Linked DNA regions of Homo sapiens: all the other regions are linked to region 3. Evidence: promoter capture Hi-C in human tissues and cell types (Jung and others, 2019). All regions are on one chromosome and are shown on one strand. Each heading gives the region's core, a stretch centred on a gene start or on the middle of the fragment in contact. The rest is flanking DNA. Distances are from core to core; before and after follow the strand shown.

Region 1 (3,096 bases), core at 15-2,514, 410 kb after region 3:
GTGGTTGTAGCAAGGACTCAGCCTCATGTAGCACGAATAGGGGTGTGGTTCATGGCGTGTTGACCCAGCAGAGCACTCCCTCCCACTAACTTGTTCTGCATGTGTAGAGTCTCCCCATTTTTTTTAACGCAACCCTTTCCCCTTTTTCCTACCCCACAGCTCTGTTCCATGTAAGTTGCCAACAGTTTCACTGAACAGTGGGGTATGTGATGGTTTTGGCATGACATCTTCAGTATGAGGGGGACAGTTTGACTTCACTTTGAGGGTGTGATGTCTGTAGCTATGTGGAAGGTAAAAATAGTGGTGTGATCATGAACCAAAGGAATTTATGTTTTGTAACTTGGGTACTTTATTTTGCATTTTGTTATACTATTAAATAATTTTTTCCTGTTTGGGGGTCTTACTGTCTTTTTTTACAAGTGTATTCAGGCCTTTCTCTGTGATAGTTGTTTCAGTCTCCTCAAAATTGATCCCCCTTCTTCCTACTATACTTAATGTCTTCTTTCTGTTGACTCTTTTTGGGAATAAGGAGCAACAGGCTTCTGTCTCCCCTCATCCTCAGCCTCCCGTTCAACTTGTTTATTCTCCCAGAAACCTCCTTATAACATACTTCCGTTTCCCCAGTTTTCCTTATGCTTGAAAAGTAGATCCAAGATAACAGTCCTAGAAACACACACAATGGTTTCTTTTTCTTTTTTTTTTTTTTTTTGAGATGGAGTTTTGCTCTTTTTGCCCTGGCTGGAGTGCAATGGCACAATCTCAGCCCACTACAACCTCTGCCTCCCAGGTTCAAGCGATTCTCCTGCCTCAGCCTCCCAAGTAGCTGGGATTATAGGCATGTGTCACCACGCCCAGATAATTTTTTTTTTTTTTTTTTTTTTTTTTTTTTTTTGGATTTTTAGTAGAGATGGGGTTTCTCCACATTGGTCAGGCTGGTCTCAAACTCCCGACCTCAGGTGATCCGCCTGCCTTGGCCTCCCAAAGTGTTGGGATTACAGGTGTGAGCCACCACGCCCGGCCAGAAACACAACGGTTTCTACTGGTTTTTTTGCTTATTTGTGTAAAGAGCAACTTTGAGAGGGATATATGGAGTCTGGAAAGGAGAACAAATTGCCTTCCTAGACTCAACCGAGACTGGCCCCCACTAGAAAATGCACTCTCCTCCCCAAAACCCGCCCCCTCACAGGAGGCAGGGTTTTTCTTTTGGGCAAACCTGCTCCTGGGGAGAGGAGTGGCAAAACCTGTTTTGAAGATGAGGTTACCTCCCTTCCACACCTCCCTCCTTGGAGGCAAGAGCTACAACAGCTGAGACAGAAAAGAGGTAAGGAAGTGTTGGGGGCTGGGACAACCAGCTCCCCAACAACTCCTAGGTGTTTAAAGAAGGAGGCAGGAAGACTTGTGAAGATGGGAACTATACAAGAGGCAGGAAAAAAGACAGATGTTGGGTAAGTAAGATCTTGGCTCACTTGATTGGTAACAGTGAATAAACAGTCCGGAGAGACTTCCCCACCACCCAGCTCTTACTGGGTCAAATCTCGGGTTCCTCAAGGAGACAAGACTGTAAGAGAGTTTGCAGAGAAGAGATGAGGGTGGTTTTAGGTAGGAAATGTCAGTATGGTATGGAACTGGGGAACAGGATTCCAGGATAATTCCCTGGTTTAAAAATAAAGGAAGTTTCTGTAATATGTTGTACCTGATAAATCTGCCTGTGTTCTTTTATTTTCTAACCCTCACCCTCCAGAATGGCCATCAGGAAAGCTGAACCAGAACCGAGTTTAGGTCCAGGTTCTCGTTCTGGCAAATCTTTCTCCTTACCTTCTTCCTCCACCCCTCCACTTATGCCATGTTTTCCCTTAGCCACTCCCCAGCTCGGTGGAGGAAAGGCAGGCCTAACTAGGTACCGTCTTCCCGACTTTGCTCAATGATAGCTGGGTGGGTCTAGCTGGGTTCCAGCCACTTGTAATGTGGGACATCTCTCACCCCAACTTTGTAGGTGGAGCAACTGCTACAGAGGTAAATATGATTAACTTTACATTCCATCTTTCGTCTGCTCCCAAACTTAACAGCAGGTAATCTGCTTCTAGCAAGTGGTGAAGGTAAGAGAAGCATCTGTATAGGAGGCAAGAGATCTGAGTCCTTTTGAAGGCCTATCCTCTGCTCTGTATCTCAATTACTGTTCTTCATTTCAATTATTCTTACCTACTATTCAGTTCCCTTGATCTTTTCTTCTTGGGGGCTGTCTTAGGGTCAGGGAGATTGCAGAAGCACCAGAACTAGGAGCAGCCCTGAGACATGGGGAGTTGGAGCTGAAGGAGGAATGGCAGGATGAAGAATTCCCTAGGTGAGGACGTGTGAGGGTGGCTGGGAGAAGGGAGGGGTGGTCACGAATGGACGGAGGGGATGGCGCGGCGGCTCATGGCTGTAATCCCAGCACTTTGGGTGGCCGAGGCGGGTGGATCACCTGAGGTCAGGAGTTTGAGACCAGCCTGACCAACACGGTGAAATCCCGTCTCTACTAAAAATACAAAATTAGCCAGGTGTGGTGGCACATGCCTGTAATCCCAGCTACTCGGGAGGCTGAGGCAGGAGAATCACTTGAACCTGGGAGGCAGAGGTTGTAGTGAGCTGAGATTGTGCCATTACACCCGAGCTTGGGCAACAAGAGTGAAACTCTGTCTCAAAAAAAAAAAAAAAAAAAAAAAAAAAAAGCAAATGGACACAGGGATGGTGAATTAGGACTTGAAGGAAAAAAATGGGAAAAAGAAAACAGAGGCCGGGCGTGGTGGCTGATGCCTGTAATCCCAGCACTTTGGGAGGCCGAGGCAGGTGGATCACTTGAGCTCAGAAGTTCAAGACTACTCTGGGCAACATGGCATAACCCCATCTCTACAAAAATACAAAATTTAGCCAAGTGTGGTGGTGCACACCTGTAGGCCCAGCTACTCGGGAGGCTGAGGTGGGAGGACCGCTTGAACCCTGGAGGTAGAGGCTGCAGTGAGCTGTGATTGTGCCACTGCATTCCAGCCTGGGCAACAGAGTGAGACCCTGTCTCAAAAAAACAATTAAAAAAAAAAGCAGCATAGGTGATAAAATCAT
Region 2 (3,249 bases), core at 236-2,735, 340 kb before region 3:
CACGCCTGGCTAATTTTGTATTTTTAGTAGAGACAGGGTTTCACCATGTTGGCCAGGCTGGTCTCAAACTCCTGACCTCAGGTGATCTACCCGCCTCAGCCTCCCAAAGTGCTGGGATTACAGGCGTGCGCCACCGCGCCTGGCCCTATTTATTTATTTATTCATTTTTAATTTTTTGAGACAGGGTCTCACTCTATTGCCCAGGCCAGGGTGCAGTGGTGTGATCAAAGCTCGCTGCAGCCTTGACCTTCCAGGCTCAGGTGATCCTCCCCCTCAGCCTCCCAAGTAGCTAGGACAACAGGCCATGCCACTACACCCGGCTAATTTCTATATTTTTTGTAAAGACGGAGTTTTGCTTTGTTGCCCAGGCTGGTCTCGAACTTCTGGGCTCAAGTGATCCGCCTGCCTTGGCCTCCCAAAGTGCTGGGATTACAGGTGTGAGCCACCGCGTCCAGCCCATATAATTTATTTTGCATTTATTATATACTACTTTGTTTTAGTATCTTTTATGTGGTCCTAGTGGTCCAGGAGGCACTAGAGTGGTATCAACAGTATCTGACACAGAGTAGTCATTCAGTGAAAGTTTGTTGACAAGCATAATAATGTCCCAATCTAGTTCTATTTCGTTACTTTGGACCTGGCTTACTCTGAGGTGGGCTTAAGTGTTAGTGTAAGTTATTAGCATCAACTGATGATGCACACGTCTGTGTCTGTGTCTGTGTGTGTGTGTGTGTGCGTGAGCGTGCGCGCGCACTCTCTCTCTAAGGGAGGTACGTTTTCCTACAGCCATTAGATGTTAACTTACGTGAATAACCATAAATGGATATGTACAGGTAGCATACAAATAGGAGGACGGGTGTCTCCACAGCGAAGAAGAAATTTAAAAGGAGGTTTTTCAGTAGGTCTCATTAGCACGAAAAGGCATAGAAGCTGACATAATTTTTTATTCTAAACCCTGCAGGTGTTTCCCATATATCTTTATTGATTTCACTTTATGTAGTTAAATTAGTGGGAAGATGATATAGGAAACTCACAGTATGTTTATTTCTTTTCCTTAGCACTTAGGCAGATGACGTGTATGAATCAATCTATTTTTCGTCCGGAGAGCAGATCTCAAAGAGTCTGTCCTTTCCAAAGAGAAAACAGGAAGCATCCTCAGGAAGCGCCTACTTCTCTTGTTTTCCATCGAGAAAGAGAAATGGCTCAAATATTTATCAAGGATTTCACAGGATTAAGGGGTATGAAATTGGGCTGACCTTCTCAGAGGCCGAAGGACTTCGACTCCATGAGAGGGCGAGAAACGTGTTTCGGGGGAATTTAAGTCAATGAGTATTTTGCTTTGTCAGGTGTAGAGTCCAGGCCCGGGGAAGAGAGGCAGTCAACAGAGGCCAGAAAGGACGTTGCTATGGTTTCCACGCACGTTGTCTCCCTCGGCCTGTTTCTTTGCGCGGCGCTGGCGATTCCGTAATTTCCGCTTCCGGTAGTGAGAACCCTTCCGGTGGGCTAGGTACTGAGCGCGCGAGGTGAGGAGTTGTGCAGGGTTTGGGGAAAGGAAGGCTGGCTTGGCGAGAGGGCAGGTTTGCGGGCTTTCGCCCCCTTTTCCAAAGACCAACAAAGAGTCCTTCCCCAACTCCCAACTCAACCCCTTTTGGAACTATGTGTGGTGGTTGGGACCCTGTGGCGCATCCTTGTCGCTCGTGTCCTTCTCATGCCCGGCGACGCGTCTTTGTGGTAACGCCCTGCTGCCATCTCTTTTCTTCTCTATGCGAGGATTTGGACTGGCAGTGAGAATAAGAGACAACGATTCACGTCTACTTTCTAGGATGACTTCCATGTGCTCCATCTCGCGCGTCCCTGAGCATGTTGAATTTCCAAATCCTAAATAAGCCGCGCGGTGTAGTTTGTATTATGTTGCGTTTCTCTTTCTGCTTTCCTCGCCCTTTCTCCATCATCCTTTAGGCTCTACAGAGTGAAGGTTTAAATCCAAGGTCATGGCAAAACATCTGAAGTTCATCGCCAGGACTGTGATGGTACAGGAAGGGAACGTGGAAAGCGCATACAGGACCCTAAACAGGTAACTGTTAAGGGACCAGAATCATGCCTAGACTCTCTGGGAAGTGCGGTGGTTATTCTCTCCCTTCCCCTTTCGTTGATTGTTCTCAAAACAGTGCCAGCCCAGGTGTTCACAGTCTCTTAAAACGTCTCAGCCCCTCAGTTTATTATCTTAAAAATGAAGTTCTGGGCCGGGCGCGGTGGCTCACGCCTGTAATCCCAGCACTTTGGGAGGCCGAGGCGGGTGGATCACATGCGGTCAGGAGTTTCAGACCAGCCTGGCCAACATGGTGAAACCGTGTCTCTACTAAAAATACAAAAATTAGCCGGGCGTGGTGGCAAACGCCTGTAATCTCAGCTACTCGAGAGCTGAGGCAGGAGAATCGCTTGAACCCGGGAGGCAGAGGTTGTAGTGAGCCAAGATCGAGCCACTTGCACTCCAGCCTGGGCAAGAGTGAGACTCTATCTCAAAAAAAAAGAAAAAAAGTTCTTCCTCAAACCTAACTGTATGAATTGTATTCAACAAGTAATCACCCCCCGCACCTCCCCGCTTTTAATTTTAATTTTAATTTTTTTTTTTTTTTTTGAGGCAGAGTCTCGCTCTGTCACCCAGGCTGGAGTGCAGCGGCACGATCTCGGCTCACTGCAAGCTCCGCTTCCTGGGTTCACGCCATTCTCCTGCCTCAGCCTCCTGAGCAGCCAGTACTACAGGCTCCCGCCACCACGCCCGGTTAATTTTTGTATTTATAGTAGAGATGGGGTTTCACCGTGTTGGCCAGGATGGTCTTGATCTCCTGACCTCAAGTGATCTGCCTGCCTCTGCCTCCCAAAGTGCTAGGATTACAGGCGTAAGCCACAGCGCCCGGCCCCGCTTTTTAAAAATTGAGACAGGGTCTTGCTGTGTCACTCAACAATCCTCCTGCCTCAGTCTCCTGACTAGCTGGGTCTAGTGACGCACGCCACCACCGCAGTTAATTTTTGTATTTTCTGTACAGAGGGAGTCTCGCCATGTTGCCCAAGCGTAATGACTCCTTTTATGAGGAACCTGAATTCTTTAGAAGACTTAAAAAAGAGCCCAAATGGAAAATCAAGATGTGAAGTTGCTAGGAAGCGGGAACGTAGTATGATAAATAGAAAGCTGAGGGAGTGATTGGTGTGGGACAAAGCTAAAGGAAAAGGTGAATTCAGATTGGCATC
Region 3 (3,450 bases), core at 157-2,656:
AAGCAGTTCCTTCTTTATTCAAGGTCTAAGCCACCTGTTAGGTCTCCCTGTGGAGGCGGCTAGCTATGTGGCCTTCTCCAAAGATCTCCACCTGAGTAATGGCACAGCCTTGCTTCAACATTTCCACAAATATTATGGTAGCAAGCTGATAAACAGAGAGGAAAATGATACTGTTTTTAACCTCAGGAAAACAAAGATACAGTAGGCTCACTAGTATTTACCCACCAGTTTTCATCAAAAAAATCAATACCTACCCTGGTGGTGCAGGGACTCTCACTACTGTAGTCAATCTCTTTTTTTTTTTTTTGTGGTCCCTGCTGCCCTTTAGTGACTTTTTGAAAAGATATGAAGTCAACGTATGACTCTTTTTAGTGGAATTATATTCCTTTCTCTTGGAAATTACGCATAGATATAACACCAAGTGTATTTAATGAGTACCTGAACCCAGTACTAAATTTTAAAAGTCAAATACAAACCCCAATAAGGGGTTTATTTGGCGTTAGTGTTTCCATCACGGAATCGCAGGTGCACTAAGTCCCTGCCTTGGAAGTCTAGGGGAAGAGAGAAGTGTCTTTCTCACGACCCTGTCGGCGTCTTTTCCAAGTTTAATTACCATGATTCTGTTTGGAACTCTAGCCCTCTTCAATATTGCTGGGTCCTCACTGAAGGTGAGCAATAGACCATCCTTAGCTACTAAAATAGGTCTCTTGAGAAAGTTGCCGCCTTAAACTAGCCATTATAATAACTACACTTCTCCCCTCCCCCAATACTGGTTTTTTTTTAAACGTCTTTACCTCGACCCCTATCTTTGCGGATTGAGGCTGCGGGCCCCAGCCCGGTTGCTGGGTCACTTACCTCTACAAACCAATAACACACATCACACCCAAGACCACCAGCCATCCCCTTTCCATTCACCGTCTTTCCAACCACCCGCCCCACGTCCATGCTCGGCCAATTATAGCACAGCGTCCAAGGTTTGAGCGGTAGGCCTATTGGCCAATCAGGAAGAGTACAGTACTGAGTGACAAACGACCCAACTAACCAGCGCCAAAGCAGCATGTCGTGTTGAAGCTCACCCAGCGTGACGCAAAAAGTGGCCAACCCCTGCGGAGCCTGAGACCATGGCGACCAATCCGCACTGGTGGGAGACCGTCTCCCGCCCCATCACGGTCTCCCCAGCTCGCCCGCCCGCACCCCTTCCACTTCACCTGCTTCTCCTCGCCGGTCTCCTCCGCAGGGTTCTCTTCTTCTTGTTTCTGGGACATGGCGGGACCGGGACTGTGGAGTGTAAGGGGCCCGGGAAGGCAACCGGAGAAGGGAAGGGGGAGGGGAAACGGGGACAACCTGCGCTGCTGCTTCGGCTCCTGTCACTAGGGTTGCTCAGTCAAAATGGCGGCCCTTGCCCGTGACGTTGCGACCGCCCCTTCCTATGAGAGCCAGTGGGAGTGAGGTAGATAGGGCAATGACGTAACGATCTACCAATAGTCGCCGTCTAAAGGTGGGCTCTATAGAGGCGACCGGCAAGCTGGAACACCAACCTGGAAAGAGAGTGAGCCACAAGGACCAATTGGAAGCCTGTGGGGGATATCGGGGGCGGGGCTGCTGGCTGTGGTACTTTTGCAGCTTTGGTGGGCTCCGGCTTCCTTCACTCCAGCCCACCGCGTCCGAGAGACTTAGCAGGGCGTCAAACTGGAGAGCGGAAGGATGGAACCTTTTATTCTCAGGTGGAGAGGATTAAGCTTTGCGGTGTTAGCAGAAAATGATCGAGCTCCAGAAAATGATTTGGAGGTCAGATTCGATTTTAAAGTAGTACTAACAGGCCGGGCGCGGTGCCTCACGCCTGTAATCCTAGCACTTTGGGAGGCCGAGGTGGGCGGATCACCTGAGGTTAGGAGTTCGAGACCAGCCTGACCAACATGGTGAAACCCCGTCTCTACTAAAAATACAAATATTAGCCGGGCGTGGTGGCGGGCGTTTGTAATCCCAATTACTTGGGAGGCTGAGGCAGGAGAATCGCTTGAACCCTGCAGGCGGAGGTTGCAGTGAGCCGAAATCGCGCCACTGCACTCCAGCCTGGGTGACAGGACGAGACTTTGTCGCGAAAAATAAAATAAAACGGTACCAATGGTATTACGATGTGTCACTTGGCCTGTGGAAGAGAGAGACTGAGTCTCAACCCGAGCTGTCTTGCAAAACACTAATGGCTTACGTTCCGTAGTTTCACTCTTATGTGTAGTTTTTATATTCCATCAGGGTGATCCCTTGGGGACTACGCTCCTTGAAACAAGGAGGACAGTGTAAGTATGTGGTAAACATTTGGTAAATACGGTTAATACTAGTTAACCTATCCAGAATTACAGTTTAACATTTCCTGGGCGTCTGTCTGTATGTGGATGGTACTGTGTTAGTTGGGGGGGGTACGTGTATAGTAAGGCAGTCTCTGCCCTTAGAAAGCTTACAGGCCTGGCTGGGCGCGGTGACTCACGCCTGTAATGCCAGCACTCTGGGAGGCGTAGGCGGGCGAATCACTTGAGGTCAGGAGTTCGAAACCAGCCTGGCCAACATGGTGAAACCCTGTCTCTACTAGAAATACAAAACAAGGCTGGGCACGGTGGCCCACGCATGTAATCCCAGCACCTTGGGAGGCCGATGAGGGTGGATCATGATGTCAGGCGATAGAAACCATCCTGGTCAACATGGAGAAACCCCGTCTCTACTAAAAATACAAAAATTAGCCAGGCGTGGTGGCGTGCACCTGTAGTCCCAGCTACTCAGGAGCCTGAGGCAGGAGAATCGCTTTTACCTGGGAGGCGGAGGTTGCAGTGAACCGAGATCGCATCTCGCCACTGAACTCCAGCCTGGGTGACAGTGAGAGTCCGTCTCAAAAAAAAAAAAAAAAAAAGAGTGGCAGATAAGAAGTGCTCTTTATGGAGATAATTTGGTGGTAATGAATAAAAAGACTCAGAATTCCAAGCAGAAAACTACCAGAGATGAACAGTCTAGCCGAGTCCTCTGCAAACGTTAGGTGGGAGATAATTAGGATTTAACCTAGAAACGTAGTAGTTAAGAATAGAAAATAGTGAACCTAACCAAGAGAGTCTGTGACAATGGAATCCACTAGACTAGCAGCTGACTGAATAGAGAATGAGAAGACTGTGTGCCTCAAGGTGATTATTTATAGAAACAATAAATTCAAGAAGAGGAGTCAATTTGGGAATGGAGCTGAAAAGCAGAGAGAAAATAAGGCATTCAGTTTTGAAAACATGGACTTTTTTTTTTTTTTTTTTTTTTTTTTGAGACGGAGTCTCGCTCTGTCACCCAGGCTGTAGTGCAGTAGCACAATCTCAGTTCCCTACAACCTCTGCCTCGCGGGTTAAAGTGATTCTCCTGCCTCAGCCTCCCGACTACAGGTGTGCGCCACCATGCCCGGCTGATTTTTGTATTTTTAGT

What was found. Contacts are between HindIII fragments. The study calls those that stand out against the background at their distance.
Region 1: the fragment with the promoter of BNIPL here is called in contact with the fragment with the promoter of ENSA in region 3 in 1 of the 25 tissues and cell types used here (adrenal gland).
Region 2: the fragment with the promoter of MRPS21 here is called in contact with the fragment with the promoter of ENSA in region 3 in 1 of the 25 tissues and cell types used here (heart right ventricle).

What each region holds. Positions count from the first base shown.
Region 1 is chr1:151,035,322-151,038,417 of GRCh38, forward strand. It overlaps BNIPL (BCL2 interacting protein like), which reads left to right and starts at 1,265. Exons shown (of 10, transcript NM_138278.4): 1 at 1,265-1,445; 2 at 2,246-2,341. The coding sequence starts at 1,405. It overlaps PRUNE1 (prune exopolyphosphatase 1), which reads left to right. Exons shown (of 8, transcript NM_021222.3): 8 at 1-392. The HindIII fragment of the contact is 8,096 bases long and covers 1-2,140 here.
Region 2 is chr1:150,292,376-150,295,624 of GRCh38, forward strand. MRPS21 (mitochondrial ribosomal protein S21) reads left to right here and starts at 1,486. Exons shown (of 3, transcript NM_031901.6): 1 at 1,486-1,523; 2 at 1,960-2,074. The coding sequence starts at 1,992. LOC105371434 (a long non-coding RNA gene) reads right to left here and starts at 1,445. Exons shown (of 2, transcript XR_922129.4): 1 at 1,257-1,445; 2 at 925-1,122. RefSeq lists an enhancer at 1,774-1,833. The HindIII fragment of the contact is 19,456 bases long and covers 1-3,249 here.
Region 3 is chr1:150,628,206-150,631,655 of GRCh38, forward strand. It overlaps ENSA (endosulfine alpha), which reads right to left and starts at 1,407. Exons shown (of 4, transcript NM_004436.4): 1 at 1,209-1,407. The coding sequence starts at 1,265. It overlaps LOC112268239 (a long non-coding RNA gene), which reads left to right and starts at 1,614. Exons shown (of 2, transcript XR_007066603.1): 1 at 1,614-2,297. RefSeq lists enhancers at 1,122-1,391, 1,134-2,101, 2,102-3,071. The HindIII fragment of the contact is 5,200 bases long and covers 1-2,096 here.